Linked DNA regions of Homo sapiens: region 2 is linked to region 1. Evidence: promoter capture Hi-C in human tissues and cell types (Jung and others, 2019). All regions are on one chromosome and are shown on one strand. Each heading gives the region's core, a stretch centred on a gene start or on the middle of the fragment in contact. The rest is flanking DNA. Distances are from core to core; before and after follow the strand shown.

Region 1 (4,048 bases), core at 1,398-3,897:
CCTGGGTCACGAGTGTATGGTTCTGGTCACTCTGCTGTGGTGCGAGGATGAAGGTGCCAGCCCAGTGTGGGCAACCCTCACAGCCAGAATGTTCCAGTGCCCCGCACCTCGGGACCCTGGATGTGTGCGGCTGCCGTCACAAAGTACCGCAGACCCAGCAGCTTAAACCACAGAAATTTATTCTATCACAGTCCTGAAGGCCCAGAGTACAAGATCAAAGTGTCTGCAGATTCTGTTTGTCTGAGGTCTCTCTGCTTGGCTTGCAGGCGGCCGCCTCCCTGCTTTGTCCTCCTGGCCTTTTCTCTGAGTGCATCCCTGGTGTCTCTCCCTCTTCTCACCGCCCTGTCCATCTCCACATCCAATCCAGTCGGCGGTGCTGGGGGTAATCCAGTCTGCCATGCTGGAGGTCAGGCCTTCAGCAGATGGTTTCTCGAGGGAATGCAGTGCGGCCCTCAACAGACCCCATCCTCCCCTCCTGGCCTCCAGACATGGATCCCTGACTCCATCCTCCCCTTGAGGCTCCACAGAGCTCTGACCCCATCCTCCCCTCCTGGTCTCCCTCCAGACACAGATCCCTGACCCCATCCCCCACTCCCAGCCTCCAGACGTGGAGCCCTGGCTGGGGAACTCTGTGTGCTCCCAGCCTCTGAAGGTTTCTGGGCTTACCTGGCTCCTGTCTCATCCCAGTCCCCCTGAGTAGCCACGGAGGTGGGGTCCCTAAGGCCCACATGGTTGGGGTTCCATTAAGAACTTCAAGTGGGTGGCTCACGCCTGTAATCCCAGCACTTTGGGAGACCGAGGTGGGTGGATCATGAGGTCAAGAGATCGAGACCATCCTGGCCAACATGGTGAAACCCCATCTCTACTAAAAATACAAAAAATTAGCTGGGTGTGGTAGCGGGTGCCTGTAGTCCCAGCTACTCTGGAGGCTGAGGCAGGAGAATGGCGTGAACCCGGGAGGCAGAGCTTGCAGTGAGCCAAGATCGCACCACTGCACTCCAGCCTGGGCGACAGAGCGAGACCCTGTCTCAAAAAAAAAAAAAAAAAAAAAAAAGAACTTCAAGTGGGGCTGGGCTCAGTGGCTCACACTTGTAATTCCAGCACTTTGGGAGGCCGAGGCAGGAGGATCGCTTGAGCCCAGGAGTTTGAGACCAGCCTGGGCAACGTGGTGAGACCTCATGTGTATTTGTCTGATAAAGACATACGCAAGACTGGGTAATTTTTAAAGAAAAAGCAGTTTAATGGACTCAACAGTTCCACAATCATGGTGGAAGGTGAAAGAGGAGCAAAGTCACGTCTTACAAGAGGGTGTGTGCAGGGGAACTGCCCTTTATAAAACCATCGGATCTCGTGAGACCATTCACTATCACAAAAACAGCACCGGAAAAAGCCGCCCCCGTGATTCAGTGACCTCCCACCGGGTCCCTCCCATGACGTGGGAACTATGGGCTCTACAATTCAAGATGAGATTTAGGTGGGGACACAGCCAAACCATATCACCATGTCTACCAAAAATGGAAAAGTTAGCCAGTGTAGTGGTGTGTGCCTGTGGCCCAGATGCTCAGGAGGCTAAGGTGAAAGGACCTCTTGAGCCTGGGGACCAAGGCTGCAGGAAGCCATGATTGTGCCGCTGCACTCCAGCCTGGCTGACAGAGTGAGACTTTGTCTCAAAAAAAAAAAAAAGAGAAAATGATAAAAGCACTGCAAGTGGGCAGCGGCTGAACGTGGAGACAGGAGTTCTCCCTTCTGAGCACGGCCCTGGTGCCGCTGACTTCGTGGGGAGCCTGTAGTCAGGGGAGCAGCAGCTGGGGAGAGCTGGGGTCTCAGCTGCCTTCCCCCATATCGCACATGCCCGTCTCGTGTGTATCTGCACTCTCACACGCGTGTTCCCCTGCCCTGCGCTCACATGTATCTGCACTCACTCTCACATGCTTGCTTCCCCTGCCCCATGCTCACGTGTACCTGCACTCTCACACGTGTGCTCCCCTACCCCACACTCACATGTATCCTCGCTCACTCTCACACGTGTTCCCCTGTCCTGTGCTCACATGTATCCACGCTCTCACACATGTGCTCCCCTGCCTTGTGCTCACGTGTATCTGCACTCTCACGTGTTCCCCTGCCCTGCCCTCACGTGTATCCTCACTCACTCTCACACGCGTGCTCCCCTGCACTCTCCTGTCTGAGCTGAGCTGACCTCAGTTGGGTGCTGCGAGCCAGGGCCTCATGCTGGCCTCTCGCCCTCCACAGCCCCAGGGGTCCAGGCTCCTCCAGGAACAAACGCAGGCCCCACGGGCTGCCTGGAAGGCCTCCCAGAAGGCAGCACAGGGTCACGAGGGTCACCCGCAGTGGCACAGGGAGGCCTCGTCACGACAGGATTCCAGCCAGGCTGGCCTGATGCTCCTGGGGGTCCTCGGCACATGCCCCTTCACCCTGGCATGTGCTTCTTTTCCGGGAACCCACACTCTGGCTGAGTGGAGCCATCCCCTCTGGGTCAACAGCACCCGGGGTGGCTCTGCAGCACCCCACTCCGCGGCTGCACAGGGACCTTGGCCCCACTGCTCCTTGTGCCTTGCTGGTTAATGAGAAGCCGGTGGGGAGGTGCTGCCGGTGAGCGTATAAAGGCCCTGGCGGCGGCTGCGGAGCACTGGCCCTGTCCTTCCATCTGCCCAGAGAGGAGCATCTGGATCAAGGTGCTGGCCATGTCCCAGCTGGTGGAATGCGTCCCCAACTTTTCGGAGGGGAAGAACCAGGAGGTGAGGCCCGAGGAGCTGGTCAAGCATCTAGGGCTGATGGGGCAGCTTGAGTGGCTAAGGCCCAGGCCATGGAGGAGGTGGTGGGCTTGGTGTCCCGGGTCGTCTTCCCAGGATGGGCAGAGCCGCTGCCCGTGGGCCCCAAGGACATCCCGTGGCTCAGGGCCCTGGGGAGTGCCTGACCCAGGGGTGGGTGGAACACGACTGGTGCTTGTGGGGGCTGAGGCTTGGCTGTGGCTTCAGGGGCCTTTCGGGTGCTTTCGGTGGGGGGTTGGGCAGATCTCTGGGCCTCAAAGGGCCTTGGTGCTCCCCCCTGAAAATGGGGCTCCTGCCACTGACTGAAAGGGCTGTGTGAGGCCACACGAGGTGGCCCAGCATGGTCCCCACTGCCGCCTCTCCATCTCCACTGGAGTTAGCTTGCTGAGCCCCCACCCTGCAGCCACCATCCTCACTGGACCCAAAACGAAGTAGGCACAGAGGGGGCAGCAGGCCCCCAGGTCCGGCCTCTCGCCTTCCACAGCCCTGAGGTCCAGGCTCCTCCGGGAACAAACGCAGGCCCTAAGGGCCACCTGGAAGGCCTCCCAGAGCGCAGCACCAGGCCACAGGGGTCACCCGCAGGGGTGCAGGGAGGCCTCGTCATGCCGGGATTCCAGCCAGCACCAAGGCCCTGGGACAGGGCAAGATTTGGGGCTGAGCCCCTGCTCCCAGCAGTCCTGCCACCCGGAAGGTTCTAGGCCCTTCAGGCCCCTCCCCCATGCTGGTGATCTGTCCCTCCCCTGCTCGGGGGTGGGGGTCCCGGCCCCTCTGTGACCTGCGCCTGTGGTCACCTTCTTGGATCCCCGGCCACGTCTCTGGCATCTGTCTGTCGGAGCAGAGCCCGTGAGTCTCTCCTGGAGGCACCACCTGCAGCCCCTTGTGGGGACTGTGCTTGGGCTGGAGTGACTGTGGCTGCTGTGAGGGTTCCCGGGCGGCCGCTGTGTGCGGGCACTTTCGGTGGGAGCTCAGCTTGTCGGAGAGCCCCCAAAGGCTTGGCCCGCCTCCTCAGCCCCCATTTGTGTCTCGGGGTGCAGCCACCTCCAAGCTCCTTTTCCTTCTTTCAAACGGGGAGACTGAGGTGTGGGGGCCGGGCCTGTGTCCCAGGTGATCGACGCCATCTCTGGAGCCATCACACAGACCCCGGGCTGCGTGCTGCTGGATGTGGACGCAGGCCCTTCCACCAACCGCACCGTGTACACCTTCGTGGGGCCGCCGGAGTGCGTGGTGGAGGGGGCCCTCAACGCTGCCCGGGTAGCTTC
Region 2 (3,727 bases), core at 196-2,695, 45 kb after region 1:
CCCGGCCCCCGACCCCTGGCACCTGGGCAGTTGTTGTTTCTCTCGGTAGTGTCCGGCGAGATGACCTCCTGCTGCTGGGCCTGGATGGCCCCCAGGATTCCCCAGAGCAGGAGCACGGAGCAGGTGCCCTGGAGCATCTTGGCAGCACCTGTGGCCCTGAAGTCCTGCAACAGGGGTGGGGGTCGCTCAGACACCCCCAGTGCCTCTCCCCTGGCACCCTCCCCCATGGCAGGCGCACGCACAGCAGGTCAGCGGGATTGGGGGCACTGCCCTCAGTCTTCAAGGAAGCGGGGTCTGCGCCCAGCACACACCGTCACCAGCATCTGGACTGGGGGGCTTGCGCCCTCTTGCCCCACCCTGGGTGGGGTCACAGATGTTTAGTGGGTGCCTCTGGGCTCAGTTTTGGGTGGGATTTGGATGGTTGAGGCCCTTCCATGTCCTCCAGGGCTGGGTGGAGTGGGTAGCTGGGCGCGTCGGCATGGAAGGGAATGGAGCACCACTGTCTGGCGCCCCCCACTGCCTGGGGCTGCCCTGGAAACAGTGCAGAGGGGAGGGCGGGAGAGAGATCCCAGCTTCCCCAGACCGGCTCCCCTGCAGAGCTAGGCACTCTCTCTCCAGCCTGGCTCCATTCCCTTTAAACAGGACTTTGATAAGGAGGGAGGGAGGACTCTGTCAAGTGTAGGGACACAGCCGTCATTAGCCTGGCTTTCCTTTCTGTTGGGTGCCAGGACCCTGGGGCAAACAGATCCAGCCCTTGAACGTCCATCCTCCCTGATGCCCTGTGGCTTGGCCTAAGCTCCAGCTCCAGGAGGCCATCAGGACGGGCCTCACTGTGCTGCTGGCTCCGCAGAGTGGGGCTGGCAGCAGCCGGGCAGCTGGGCAGAAAGGGCACCGGGCCTGGTTCAGAGCGTGCAGTTCCAGGGGTAATGCAGGGATTGGAGTGCCGCCCTCTCCTCGGTGCAGATGGGAGGAGTGTCCAAGCACCGGGACTAGGGGAGGCGCTGCCAGGAGAGGGCCCTGAAGGGTTGCTGTGATTTTGCGGCGTCTGGAGTGGATGAGGTGACCCAGGCCAGACCTGCTCAGCCTGGGGCCCAGGGAGGAATGAAGTCCGTTCCCAAAGGTGCCAGCTCAGGCAGTTTGTGGGTGAGTTTCACAGCTTCAAGGACAAGCACTTCATGCTATTTAACTTGTTTTAGAACATAAAAAGATAAACTTTTTCCCAATTCATTTTTAAATGTTGCATAACCTGTGACCAAAGCTTGATAAAAAAAAAAGTCCCTAAAAGTAACTCTACAGATAAATATCACTATAAATATTACTGATGGCAGCGGCAGCCCATCTGGTGTGGCCGCTGCCATCACACTGGCTGCTCAGGGAGGGCCCATGGAAGAGGCAGACAGGCCCCCAACCCCGCAGACTGCCTCCCTGGGGGCCGCTGCCATGGGGCCGGGCCGGGTGGTGTGCTGGGTGAAGGGGAGCTCACGGCGGTGTTGCCCCTGTCTGGGATGCTGGCCCAGGTCTGGAGACCCTGCCCCAGGCTGCGAGAGGACATGGCCAGGTACCATGCTCCACGGAGCCAGCAGGAGCCGGGGATAAGTGGGATCCCTGCCCCTTGCAGTTTGGCGAGGTGAGAGTTCCCCAGGTACAACTGCCCAAGTCGTGGCTGTGGATCTGGGCCTTCTGCTCCATGGAGGAGGCAGGAGCCAGCCCCCACTCCTGGTGCAGTTTCAGCTGCCCCAACTGGGGCTGCTGACCCAGGCATCGCTGCACTCTTGGGGAGCCAGGGAAGGCCCCTCTTTCCCTTGTAGGCCTGGAGGTGCCTGTTCCCGCTGCCCAGCTTCTTCCCGCTCCCACCACCCACTCCAATCTCAGAGCAGAGTTGGGGCTGAGCCTGGGCACTGTCACAGCCTGGCCGGGTGGGTGCATGCTTGTGGCAGTGCTGACATGCCAGCCCCCTGCTGACTTGGCCCCCTCCAAACTGTGGGCACTGAGAAGTGCAGGAGGGGAGGCTTGGGGGGGTGCTGAGGGTGGCTGGGCACCGGTGCCCCTTGGTACCAGCAGCCTGGGCACCATGGATGGCTGCAGGAGGCAGATAGGCTCCTGGGCAGAAGAGGATGGGTCCCCAGTGAAGCCCCACCTTCAGGCTGGGGCAGGCCTGAAGCCTGGGGGCCGGGTTGCCCGTCCTACGGACCAGAGGGGAACTCAAGGTGCTTTCTTCTGGGCCTGCACATGGCTGCACATGGACCAATCAGCATGCACTTCCCCTCTCTGAGGCCTTTAAAAGCCCCAGGCTCAGTCAGAGCAGGGCAGAGCATGGCACGACCAGCTGCAGAGAGGAGGTGCTCTCTCTGCTGAGAGCTTCAGGACCTGAAGGGATGTCAGGACGACCAGCTGCAGAGAGGAGCTACCCTCTCCAGGGCTTTCTCTCTGCTGAGAGCTGAACACTAGTTGAGATGCCCTGTTTGCAGAGAGGAGACACGCTCTCGAGGGCCTCCTCTCTGCTAAGAGCTGCAGAGACAATGGGATGACCTGCCTGCAGAGAGGAGCCACCCACTCCAGGGCCTTCTCTCTGCTGAGAGCTGAACATTTGACAAGACAACCCGCCGACAAGACAACCCGCCTACAGAGAGGGGCTGCCCCCTGCGGGTCTCCTGTGAGCTCCCCTAACACTCAATAAAGCTTCTCTGTCTTGCACACCCTCCACTTGTCTGTGTACCTCATTCTTCCTGGACACAGGACAAGAACTTGGGCAAAGGCGCCACTGGCCATAGAGGTTTCAGGCCAGAAAAGTGACACCCTAAAAATCCCATAACATTATCACAAAAATTCTAGCCAATATTAAAAACTAAAATCCAATAGCATATTAAGGACCACTATACCAGAACTATAATATGAAGTTAAAGTACAGTGTTGCCACAAACACTAGGGAATACATTAATGTAAGTCACATTAACATAAAATGGGAAAAAATATGCAATTGCTTCAATAGATCCCTGAAACATCAATTTCTAACTAAGAAACAACAACAGCCAGACAAGGTAAAACCTAGTAAGAAATTTAGGAGTAGAATTAACTCTATAAAGGATATACATTTCAAATCAAGAGCTCACATCATATTTTACACAAAAAGCTAAAATAGTGGTTCTTATCTTTGTGGTCATGGACCCTTTTAAGAGTCTACACAATTTCACCTTACACAAATGCATAGATGCTCATATACAGAAATCATGTCCAGGAATTCAGGGATTCCATTCGTAGATCTAACCCTGGGTTAAAAAATCCTGCATTAGAAGAATGCTTACTACAGTACAAAAAAAATGGGGTGGGGGCAAACAGTGCAGATCTTACGCTACCATTCAGTGTTGTGTTGGAAGCCAATGCAATAAGACAGTAAAAATAAAAGTATAACTGTTGGAAAAGAAGAGACAAAACTGTCCTTATTAAAGATAGGATTGTCTACCCAGAAAATCATCTGAACAAAGTTTTTTTAAAAAAGAGAAAAAAAAATATATATATATATAGACAGAGAGAAAGAGAGAAAGAAAGAGAAAGGAGGGGAGATTAGGGAGAGAAAATTTAGTGAGCCACTTAGAAAAATATATCATTGATGAAAAGAGTCAAACTCTGTAAAATATTTTAAGAGATTTATTCTGAGCCAAATATGAGTGGCCATGACCCATGACACAGCCCTTAGGAGGTCCTGAGAACATGTACCCAAGGTGGCTGG

The links. Contacts are between HindIII fragments. The study calls those that stand out against the background at their distance.
Region 2: a fragment that was not itself captured here is called in contact with the fragment with the promoter of FTCD in region 1 in 6 of the 25 tissues and cell types used here (H1 embryonic stem cells, IMR-90 fibroblasts, aorta and 3 more).

Annotation. Positions count from the first base shown.
Region 1 is chr21:46,154,178-46,158,225 of GRCh38, reverse strand. It overlaps FTCD (formimidoyltransferase cyclodeaminase), which reads left to right and starts at 2,647. Exons shown (of 14, transcript NM_206965.2): 1 at 2,647-2,756; 2 at 3,894-4,048. The coding sequence starts at 2,703. RefSeq lists enhancers at 2,874-3,577, 3,578-4,048. The HindIII fragment of the contact is 26,017 bases long and covers 1-4,048 here.
Region 2 is chr21:46,107,887-46,111,613 of GRCh38, reverse strand. COL6A2 (collagen type VI alpha 2 chain) reads right to left here. Exons shown (of 28, transcript NM_001849.4): 2 at 23-164. The coding sequence starts at 137. LOC124905043 (a long non-coding RNA gene) reads left to right here. Exons shown (of 2, transcript XR_007067910.1): 1 at 1-1,143; 2 at 1,518-2,699. Among named protein-coding and RNA genes, the nearest start is that of COL6A2, 12 kb to the right of the region's middle. RefSeq lists an enhancer at 3,644-3,727. The HindIII fragment of the contact is 4,579 bases long and covers 1-3,727 here.